3 separate regions of the Homo sapiens genome follow, and all the other regions are linked to region 3. Evidence: promoter capture Hi-C in human tissues and cell types (Jung and others, 2019). All regions are on one chromosome and are shown on one strand. The core of a region is centred on a gene start or on the middle of the fragment in contact, and the rest is flanking DNA. Distances in the headings are between cores, read along the strand shown. Region 1 holds the start of ZFP3 (ZFP3 zinc finger protein). Region 2 holds the start of USP6 (ubiquitin specific peptidase 6). Region 3 overlaps KIF1C (kinesin family member 1C).

The links. Contacts are between HindIII fragments. The study calls those that stand out against the background at their distance.
Region 1: the fragment with the promoter of ZFP3 here is called in contact with a fragment that was not itself captured in region 3 in 6 of the 25 tissues and cell types used here (dorsolateral prefrontal cortex, lymphoblastoid cells, mesendoderm cells and 3 more).
Region 2: the fragment with the promoter of USP6 here is called in contact with a fragment that was not itself captured in region 3 in 2 of the 25 tissues and cell types used here (H1 embryonic stem cells and lymphoblastoid cells).

The regions. Positions count from the first base shown.
Region 1 is chr17:5,076,517-5,079,967 of GRCh38, forward strand. It overlaps ZFP3 (ZFP3 zinc finger protein), which reads left to right and starts at 1,951. Exons shown (of 2, transcript NM_153018.3): 1 at 1,951-2,059. ZFP3-DT (ZFP3 divergent transcript) reads right to left here and starts at 1,597. Exons shown (of 2, transcript NR_186458.1): 1 at 1,371-1,597. RefSeq lists enhancers at 1,419-2,290, 1,658-1,727. The HindIII fragment of the contact is 17,416 bases long and covers 1-3,451 here.
Region 2 is chr17:5,113,972-5,117,848 of GRCh38, forward strand. USP6 (ubiquitin specific peptidase 6) reads left to right here and starts at 2,061. Exons shown (of 38, transcript NM_001304284.2): 1 at 2,061-2,769. ZNF232-AS1 (ZNF232 antisense RNA 1) reads left to right here. Exons shown (of 3, transcript NR_135658.1): 3 at 187-411. It also overlaps a transcript of ZNF232 not described here. The HindIII fragment of the contact is 4,107 bases long and covers 1-2,746 here.
Region 3 is chr17:5,008,608-5,012,411 of GRCh38, forward strand. The region is part of intron 16 of KIF1C (kinesin family member 1C); the gene reads left to right. Among named protein-coding and RNA genes, the nearest start is that of KIF1C-AS1, 9.6 kb to the right of the region's middle. RefSeq lists a silencer at 3,630-3,689. The HindIII fragment of the contact is 9,299 bases long and covers 1-3,804 here.

The DNA.
Region 1 (3,451 bases), core at 701-3,200, 68 kb after region 3:
TTTTAATAGAGATGGGTTTCACCATTTTGGCCAGGCTGGTTTCGAACTCCTGACCTTGTGATCTGTCTGCCTCAGCCTCCCAAAGTACTGGGATCACATGCATGAGCCACCACGCCCGGCCGGAAAATAGATATTCTGATTGAATCAGAGTTAACAAACTTCCCATGCAGTTGCAGACAGTAGGGCAAGGGAGTTAAGGATTTTAGTACCAGAGTGGCTAAAGTGATGGACCCTAGAGTCTAGGGCCTAATGGCAATGATGAATTCAAGAGAAAGTTTTCTTTCTGCTAGATTGTGTGTGGCATACAAACACAATATTCCCTTCTAAGGGTGGTCACTCCTTTCCCTATTTCATAGGATTATGGTGAGGCAAACACAGAAGCCCGCCGTCATCCTTGCGGGAAGGCAGGTGACCAGGCTTGGTAAATCACACGGTCCTTTCCCCCTTGATTGGTCCATGGTTGAGCACCAGACCCAAACAGGGCTAATCATAGTCCTTTGTAACTGATATTTGGGAAGGATAGTGTACTCTGAGGCAACATTATATAGAATGAAAGTCTTCAATGTGGTGATCTTGGAACTGACACCTAAAAACAAACTGGCTGGCTGGACGCGGTAGCTCACGCCTGTAATCCCAGCACTTTGGGAGGCCAAGGTGGGCCTAAGGTCTGACCTAAGGTCAGAAGTTCGAGACCAGCCTGACCAACATGGTGAAACCCCGTCTCTACTAAAAATACAAAAATTAGCCGGGCGTGGTGGCTGGCACTTGTAATCCCAGCTACTCTGGAGGCTGAGGCTGGAGAATCGCTTGAACCCGGGAGGTGGAGGTTGCAGTGAGCAGAGATCGTGCCATTGCACTCCAGCCTTGGCGACAAGAGCGAAACTCCGCCTCAAAAAACAAACAAAAACAAGCTGGAGGCCGGGCGCGGTGGCTCATGTCTGTAATCCCAGCACTTTGGGAGGCCGAGGCGGCCGGATCACCTGAGGTCGGGAGTTCGAGACCAGCCTGACCAAAATGGAGAAAACCCGTCTCTACCTAAAATACAAAATTAGCCGGGCGTGGTGGCACATGCTTGTAATCCCAGTTACTCGGGGAGGCTGAAGTAGGAGAATCGCTTGAATCCGGGAGGCGGAGGTTGCGGTGAGCGGAGATGGCGCCATCGCACTCCAGCCTGGACAACAAGAGCGAAACTCCATCTCAAAAAACAAACAAACAAGAAAACAAGCTGGCTGTGCAAAATTACAGAGGAAGTAACAAGGAAAGGTTCTGAGGTGAGAATGGGCCAAGCTTGCTCAGGGAACCCAGGAAGGCTAGCTGCAGAATGCTGTTTCCGTGGCCTCGGCAGCTTAACCTAGGCCTTTACTCTTAACCTTGGTAATTCCCACGCAATCTTGAGATTTCAGGCCAAACGTCACTCCTGCAAGCCCTTCCGGAACTCAAAGCATGTCTCCCTTCGCTCCCGCCGAGGAGAGACCTGTTCCCAGGATCTGCAGCCCTGTGCTTATCAGACCCACGGAGTCTGTGGAAAGGAAGGATGGGATAAGAACGATGCGGGTTGGGAGAGTTAAAAGGGTCGCGCAAACGGTCCCCGCGGGAATGCGAAGCGGATTCTCGAGTTCTTGAGCCTAGAGCAATGCTTGGGGAGCGACACGAGGGCGCAGAGCGGCAGATCGCGGAGCGGAAGTTCATCCCCGGAGCCGTTCTAGGAAACCCGGAGGACTCAGGTCGTCAATGATTCCGGGGCTGAAGTGGGCATCGACGGGTGCACTTTGCTGTTCCAGGGAGCCGGCTCGGCAGGCGGCGGCGACGTGGAACTTGGGCTAGGGCTAGAACCGGCGAAAAGCAAGCCGGAAAAGGCAAGGGGGCGTCGGTGCGCTGACCACCTGTTCCTCCAGCGGAGTGCGACGCGCGCCGATTGGCTGGAGTGCCGCCCGGGTACCGGAAGTGGCCGATGCCCGTCGCCAGTGACACCGGGACAACAGCTGCGGGCTCTGTGCGAGCGGCCCAGCAGCGCGGAGCCTCAGCGGAGTGAGCGAGCGCGGGGCAGTAGCGGCCTGCGGTGAGACCTCATTCCGTCGCGGCTGTGGGGGTAGGCGGGGGCTGGGCTCCCAGCTCCCTAGAGAGCCGAGCGGAAACCCTACGTTTAGGCCCGTTCTGACCGGGGTTCGCTGTGTGACCTTGAAGTTTATGCCTCCCTCCATTCCCCCCGCCCCCAGGCCTTCATTTCCACCTGCACACAGAGAGGGTGGGGCCTGGACACCGCCAGGGACAGTCCCAGCTCTGGTTTGGTGCCTGTCAGCCGTGGGGGTGGGAGAAGCAGGGACACTCCCTTCTGTACCGAGGTGGGGACCCGTGGGAGCTGTGGTTTTCTCAGACATTCCACCCCCAAGTAAACCGCTAGGACGAAATGGCGGGCAGTGTCACAAACTTAACGCCCTAGTGGCAGATTGTGCCCTGTGCTGCCAGACAAGATATTGGCTTATGAGGGGTGGTCGTGAAAAGGAGACAGGTTTGAGCTGCAAAGATAGAGCCCTATTGTGGGTCAGAGGGAGAAGAGAGGAAAGGAGGTTAACAGTGCCATAAATTAAATATCACCCAGATTGGGAAAAGGAACTTATTTTTACAAACAGTTATCGACACCAGCTATGTGTCAGACACTATCCTAGGCTCTTTAGATATAATGATGAATGAAATATCCAGTTAGCCATCAAGAGTATTACAGAGGCTGGGTGCAGTGGCTCATGCCTGTAATCCCAGCATTTTGGGAGGCCTAGGCGGGAGGATCACTTGAGCACAGGAGTTCAAGACCAGCCTGGGCAACATAGTGAGACACCATCTGTACAAAAAACAAAGAAATTAGTTGGGTAGTTGGGTGTGGTGGCGCATGCTTGTAGTCCCAGCTACTTGGGAGGCTGAGGTGGGAGGATTTTCTTGAGCCTGGGAAGTTGAAGCTGCAGTGAGTCTGGGCAATAGAGCCAAGACCCTGTCTCAGAAAAAAGGGAGGTATTGCAGATTCATTATATATATAAGACAGTTACACAAATTCACTTAACATTTACCAGGTATCTGAAATATGCTAGGTACTCAGAATACCAGGATGAATGGAACAGCATCCTTGCTTATGGTCTAGAGAAGAAAATAGGTATGAAAAATTAATAATGCAGTGGGGTAGCTGCTACAAGGTGAAGGAGTAGCTGTCTGCCTTAGAGCCTGGGGGTCAGGGAAGAAAATGGAGGGGGTCAGCTGGGCGTGATGGCTCATGCCTGTAATCCCAGCACTTTGGGAGGCAAAGGTGGGCGGATCACCTGAGGTCAGGAGCTCGAGACCAGCCTGGCCAACATGGTGAAACCCTGTCTCTACTAGAAATACAAAATTAGCCAGGCGTGGTGGCAGATGCCTGTAATACCAGCTGCTTGGGAGGCTGAGGTGGGAGAATCGCCTGAGCCTGGGA
Region 2 (3,877 bases), core at 811-3,310, 110 kb after region 3:
ATCTTGTGGTAAGCATTTGGGAAGGACATATCTGCACATGACCTGAGACTAAGTACTATACACTGAATCAGATGAAAATTGCTCTTAGGAAGCTTACAATTTTCCAAATAGTTAGGACAAAAACAAACTCTCCTTCTCTCTTCCTATATGTACATACTGACATCTTTATCATTACTGTCTTCCTAGGGTTATGATTCTGTATGGTTTCTTTGGTGCTGCATTAGACCTGAGCTCTGATTGAAAATTCTTCCACGCTCGCTACATTCCAAAACTTTATCTCCAATATGAATTTCCAGATGCCTCACAAGGTCTGAGCTCCATCTGAAGGCTTTCCCATGCTTGTCACATTCATAGGGCTTTTCTCCACTATGAATTCTATGATGTCGAATAAAGTGTGAGCTCTGATTACAAGTCTTTGAACATTCATTGCATTCACAAAGTTTCTTTCCACTGTGAATTCTTTGATGCTGAATAAGTTGTGAGCTCCCCTTCAAATCTTTCCCACACCCAATGCATTTATAAGGCCTCTCTCTCACCTTGTATGGATTCTCTGATGTTCTGTAAGGACTGAGTTCTGGCCAGGCGCAGTGGCTCACGCCTGTAATCCCAGCACTTTGGGAAACCGAGGCGGGTGGATCAGCTGGGCTCAGGAGTTCGAGACCAGCCTGGCCAGCATGGTGAAAGCCCCTCTCTACTAAAAATACAAAAATTAGCCGGGTGTGGTGGTGGGTGCCTGTAATCCCAGCTAATTGGGAGGCTGGGGCTGGAGAATTACTTGAACCTGGGAGGTGGAGGTTGCAGTGAGCCGAGATCGGGCCACTGCACTCCAGCCTGGCAGCAGTGTGAGACTCCGTCCCAAAAAATAACAAACAAACAAAAAAGACACCAGAGGGCTTTGGGTCCCTCTCTCTCTGCCATGTGAGGACCCTGTGAGAAGGCAGCCAGGGAGCTCTCACCAGAACCTGACCATGTTGGGCCCTGGTCACAGCCTTGCAGCCTCCAAAACTGAGAAAATAAATTTCTGTTGTCTGGCATCCAGTCTATGGTATTTTGTTACGGCAGCCCGAGCTAAGACAGAGGAAAACTGGGGGCTGATGTGACGGCGGGGACTTTAGGTAGAAGGACCCCACGTCAAAAGTCAAAGCTAAAAATTCTGGAACGAGCCAGGAAGGCATCAGGACGTCTCATTTTATTTGCTAGAGGCATCTTTTGGGGGGTGGGGCGGTGGGTGGGTGGAAGGAGATGTGGCCAGTGAGCCTCTGACTTTTAATTGAGTTATTTCGAAACAAGGAACAGAGGGCCGGATGTGGTGGGTCGTGCCTGTAATTCCAGCACTTTGCGAGGCCGAGGCCAGTGGATCACCTGAGGTCAGGAGTTCAAGACCAGCCTGGCCAACATGGTGAAACCCTCTCTCTACTAAAAATACAAAATTAGCCTGGCGTGGTGGGGGGCGCCTGTAATCCCAGCTACTCGGGAGGCTGAGGCGGGACAACAGCTTTAACCCGGGAGGCGGAGGTTACAGTGAGCCGAGATGGCGCCACTGCACTCCGGCTTGGGCAACAGAGCAAGACTCCGTCTCCAAAAACACACACACACACACACACAAAACCCAAAACGGAACAGAGGCAGTTCTGTATTCCAGAGGGATTGATTTGTGATGCCTGCTCAAAACTCAAGAAGCCACCACCCTGATACTCATCAAACCCCGGAGAAATTTCGTTTTTAGAGTGTCAGAAGGCCCCATGAATAACCTTCCAGTCACTGAGGGAGGTCCCTACTCAGCACGCCCCGGTCTCCTTCACTCTCCTGCACTCGTGCCTCACAGATGGCCTCATGCGCGGACTGGCGGTCCAGCCTCCCGGGGACACAGCCCGGGCGCACCCCGCGCCGCCTTTGGCCACTGAGGCGGTCCTCGAGGCGCCGGGCTAGGGAAAGCCTCCCCGGCCGTCAAGGCTGGGATAGCGCCGGGGGATCGGGGCGGGGTGCGTGCGCCGAAAGGGCCTCAAAGCTGTAGGGCTGGACGGCACAAAGGGGCGCAAGGCACGGAGGCCAGGCAGAGGGGACAGCTAGCGGCGCGGCGGGACGGGCGGGCCCCGACGCCCAGCTCCAAATGCGTGGCCGCTGTGGGAGCTCGTCTCCAGGCGCCCATCAGTCTTCCCCTCACTCGACGCTACCTTGGCGGCCGCGCCCATGCTGTCCCCGCTCCAACTAGCAGTCAGGAGGGGCCGCGGGCAGCGCTCGAGACGCTCATTGAGAGGACTTCCCGCCTGCGGGCTCTCTGCTCGACGCCACTCCCGGCCCCGCTCCGGGCGGCCCCCCTCACCACTCCCGGCCCCGCTCCCGGCGGCCCGCCTCACCACTCCCGGCTTCCCGGGGCTTAGGCCCGCACCATCGAGTCGAACCGAGTCCTCATGTTTTCCTAGACAAGCCGCTGGGGGAGAGGGGAAACACTTCTGGCCCATGTGAGCCGCCGTCTCGTGTGGTGTCTGAGGGGCGTCTACCTGGAGTCACTGAGCCGACGAAAGGGAAAAGGCCAGTGCCTGTCCGGGAAGAGCTCAGCCTAGTGGGGCGGGCGACAAGTTACAGTTGCTGCCTTACGATGGCCGTGGCCCGTGGAGGCACTAGACCCTCACCAGGGGTCTGTCAGGAAAGGCGGGCAGATACGTGAGGCCTGAACAGGAAGGAACTGGGAGACCCAAGACTGTACCGCCAAGACCGCTTTCGAGTCGGGCCGACCGGAATTTGAATTCGTTTCTTCACTTACTAGTTGTGAGTCTTTGGGCAAATTTGCCTTTCTAGAGCGTAGTTTCTTATGTATAAAACAGGGTTAACAGTTGCACTCACTGAGGTAAATACAAGAGAAAATTGATGGTAAGTGCTTATCACGGTACCCAACACATAGCAAGTACTGAAAAGTGATGGAGCTAGGTACGGAGGGAGCAATCTTCACAGAGGGAACAGCTCGTGGAAAGGCCACAGGGCAAGAGGGCGGTGCCTACATTCTTGGGGAACTGCAGAGAGTTCATGGGTAAATAATAGGAAGGAAAGGTAAGTACTTTGCAGAAAGCCTTCCCCAGCTAGGTGAGACTCCCCACTGTAGTATCATATGCCTCTCCTTTTTGGCACTTATGGTTGCAACTTTATTAATGATTCTAATTAGTTTCTCTTCTACAATTATAAGTTCCATCAGGCCAGAGACTTGTCCATTTATGCTCACCCTGCTTTGTAGCACCCGCTGCTTAACACATATTAAAAGCTCGATAAGCCTGGGCGAGGGGGCTCAAGCCTCTAATCCCAGCACTTTGGGAGGCCGAGGCGGGTGGATCATGAGGTCAGGAGTTTGAGACCAGCCTGACCAACATGGTGAAACCCCCTCTCTACAAAAAATACAAAAATTAGCCGGGTGTGGAGGCACACACCTGTAATCCCAGCTACTCAGGAGGCTGAGGCAGGAGAATCACTTGAACCCGGGAGGCAAAGGTTGCAGTGAGCTGAGATTGCACCACTGCACTCCAGCCTGGGCGACAGAGCGAGACTCCGTCTCAAAAAAAAAAAAAAAAAGCTCAATAAATATTTACAGCACAAGTGAATAAATGGGGTCGCATCAGAATATATATGTCACAATAAGGACTTTGGACTTCAGGCTGAAGTTAGTGGGAAATCACTGTGGAAATTTAGAGAGGGGGATGGCACTATCAGATTTGTTCTGAAGGAAGAACATTCCAGCTGCCCTGTAGAGAAGCGTTGGAATCAGGGAGGCATGTTAGGAGGCTGCGATAATAGTACAAGCAAGAGATGATGGTGGCCTCACTCTAAGGGCATTAAAAATCAAGACAAGTGAGGCCGGGTGGGGTGGCTCACACCTGTAATCCCAGGA
Region 3 (3,804 bases), core at 640-3,139:
AAGCAGGGATCACTGAACCCCTGTTCTGAAAAGAGGAGAGGGGTTTTGCCTTGCCTGGCCCAAGCCACATTGAGGGAGTGAAAGAGCTGTGGGCGGTAGGCCAGGCTGCGTGTCTGGGGTCTTGTCTGGGGCTGGGTACCCTGGGGCTTTGGGGTCCTTCTGAGGGATCCAGACTCTTCTGGGACCCAGCCACACCTAGGTGGAAAGAGGGGCTACGGATGCGCTCAGCATGGCTTCCAGCCACCTTTGTATACCTGGAGCTGGGCCGCTTCCACCACGGTTGCAAGGATGGAGGAAAAGCAGAAAGGACTGGGGAGACTGGTGGGGTGGAGGTTTCTTCCTTGGAGAGCTTGCAGAGATGCCACCTGCCAAAGCCTGGGGACCAAAGGAGGGGGTTCTTGTTTTAATTGTTCTTATAAAGGTAATACACACCAGAGAGAACATTCTAATAGTTCTAAAAGGTGTGTACAGTGAAAAGTCTCCAATTTACAGCATTTTGTTATAGAAAAAAAAAAAAAGTAACTCTCCATCCTTCCCACCCTTAAGTTTCCCCTCAGAGGCAGCCTTCATTATGAGTTCTTTTTTTTTTTGAGACGGGGTCTTGTACTGTCACCCGGGCTGGAGTGCAACGGTGCAATCTTGGCTGACTGCAACCTCCGCCTCCTGGGTTCATACGATTCTTCTGCCTCAGCCTCCCAAGTAGCTGGGATTACAGGCGCACACCATCACACCCGGCTAATATTTTGTATTTTTAGTAGAGATGGGGTTCACTATGTTGGCCGGAGTGGTCTTGAACTTCTGACCTCGTGATCCACCCACTTCGGAGTCCCAAAGTGCTGGGGTTACAGGTGTGAGCCACCGTGCCAGGCCCATTATGGGTTCTTACTATATTCTCCTTGGGTCGGGCCTGGTGGCTCACACCTGTAATCCTAGCACTTTGGGAGGCCAAGGCGGGTGGATCACGAGGTCAGGAGATTGAGACCATCCTGGCTAACACAGTGAAACCCCGTCTCTACTACAAATACAAAAAATTAGCCACGTGTGCTGGCGGGCGCCTGTAGTCCCAGCTACTAGGGAGGCTGAGGCAGTAGAATGACATGAACCCGGGAGGCAGAGGTTGCAGTGAGCTGAGATCGCACCACTGCACTCCAGCCTGGGTGACAGACAAGACTCTGTCTCAAAAAAAAAAAAAAGAAAAAATGTTCTCCTAGAGATGCTGTCTAGGAGATGTTATAACACATGTACAGGCATATGTTATATAGAACTATACACATTTACTCACATTCACGGCCTCTCTAATAGTTGTAGTTGCATATCTATTTTATTTATTTATTTTGAGACAAGAGTCACACTCTGTCGCCCAGGCTGGAGTGCAGTGGCACAATCTCAGCTCAGTGCAAACTCTGCCTCCCAGGTTCAAGTGATTCTCATGCCTCAGCCTCCCAAGTAGCTGGGATTACAGGCACCCACCACCACGCCGGGCTAATTTTTGTATTTTAGTAGAGACAGGGTTTCGCCATGTTGGCCAGGCTGGTCTCAAACTCCTGGCCTCAAATGATGCACTGGCCTTGGCCTCCTGAAGTGCTGGTATTACAGGTGTGAGCTACTGTGCTTGGCCTGCATACCTTATTTTAAAGCTTCCTTTATTTTTTTCACGGTGTCAGGGTATTCTATTGTGTAGATGTAGGATAATGTATTTAACCAGCTTCCCACTGATGGACATTCAGATTGTTTCCCATTCCTTGATACTACAAAAAAAGGCTACAATGCATAGTCTTACAAATGGGTGTTATCTGTAGAGCAGATTCCTAGAAATGGAGATTTTGGGTCAAATGGTAGCCATGTAAAATTTTAATCTAGGCCGGGTGCGGTGGCTCACGCCTGTAATCCCAGCACTTTGGGAGGCCGAGGCGGGCGGATCACGAGGTCAGGAGATCGAGACCATCCTGGCTAACAAGGTGAAACCCCATCTCTACTAAAATAGAAAAAATTAGCCGGGCGTGGTGGCGGGCACCTGTAGTCCCAGCTACTTGGGAGGCTGAGGCAGGAGAATGGCGTGAACCCGGGAGGCGGAGCTTGCAGTGAGCCGAGATCATGCCACTGCACTCCAGCCCAGGTGACAGAGCGAGACTCCGTCTCAAAAAAAAAAATTTTTTTTTTAATCTATATTGCCAAAGTGCCCTCTGAAGATTATAACCATACCAATTTATTTTACTTTTTTGAGATGGAGTCTTGCTGTGTTGCCCAGGCTGGAGTGCAGTGGTGCAATCTCGGCCCACTGCAAGCTCCGCCTCCCGGGTTCACGCCATTCTCCTGCCTCAGCCTCCCAAGTAGCTGGGACTACAGGCGCCCACCACCACTCCTGGCTAATTTTTTGAACCATACCAATTTATACTCCCAAGGGTAACATACAAGAGAGCCCATTTCCCCTCGCCCTTTCCCACATTCTGGCTTAGTAAGACTTTTCTCTTTGCCTGTGTGATTGGTGAGAAGGTGTCTTAAGGTAGTTCACTTTTACATTTTTCTCAAGGTGGTGAGGATGAACTCTTCTCATGTTTAAAAGCCATGTGGTCTAAAGCCAGAAGAGAGAACTGTTAGACTCATGGGGAAATGGGTTTGGTGTGAGTAGCTCCAACAGGGAATAGTTGGGTCTTAGAGGAAAAAACTACAGTTTGTCTTGGAGGGAGCCTCCTCTTGCTAAGACCCCCACCACCAGGGCTAAGGATTGCTTAAATCAGTGGTGTTCAAACCTGGTTCTGAGCTGCCTTCTCAGGGGCTGAGGATAGGGACAGGACCAGACCCTGGGGCTCTCACCCCCAGCCTGGGCCTGAGCAGCTTCTTGCTTATCTGCTTGATGTCCTAGGCTTCTAGAGAAGGTTTCATTTTGAACAAAGAGTTATAGGGCTGAAGAAAAAGTTGAAAAGCACCGCCTCAAATCGTGTTCCCTCTCCCCAGGGATAGATTGCTTTCTGCTTCCGGAGCCCATCAGCGTTTGCCAGTCCCAGAGCAGGCCTGACACTGCAGTGTAGGGAGGGGCATGGGAGTCCCTCAGGAGAAGTGTCGCAGGAGTGATCCTTGGAGCACTTGGGTGAAGGGCGGATGCACAAGATACACAGACACCTCTGGGGGACACAGCTTTGGGCTCTGAGTGTTAAGTGGCTCCCAGAGAAATAGAGGTTCGACTCCGTGCTGTTTCCCTTCTGTACCCTGTGCTTTCTGCCTCCATGCTTCTGTCCAGGCTGCTTTCACCCGGAGCGCTCTTGTGCATGTCCACGCCCTCCTTGTCCTCAAAGGCTGGCTCCCATGTTACCCTTCCATTAAGTCCTCCTGATCCCCTTGAAATCCCATAGTTCTTCACTTTGTTCCTCTTTGCATGTGAGTCCCTCCCAGAACACAGTGGCACTCAACCCCCTGGGAACAAATGAATGAATAAACGAACTTAAACAAGGGCATGAGACAATCAGAAACTCCTCCATGAGGCATCCGTTTCCCACTTGTAATGGTGTTTCCACGCCAAGCCTCACCTCCCCTAGCTGACTCTCATTTCCTGACTGACTGGACAGCAGTGCCTGGGCTTGACTCATCTCTGTACCCCGCCTAGCGCTTCACCAGGGTGAGGTAGAAAGGCCACAGTCAGTCCTTCTGCAGCAGAGGCAGGGGTCTTGTGTTCTGATGGAAGGCTTAGGAAAACTTCCCGGAGGAAGTTGCATTTCAGACAGACTGGGAGGAACGTGAAGGAAGTGAATGATTTTGGCAGGTGGGGGCGGGGCGGGAGGCGGTCTGTTGTTGGGGACATTGGCAGTC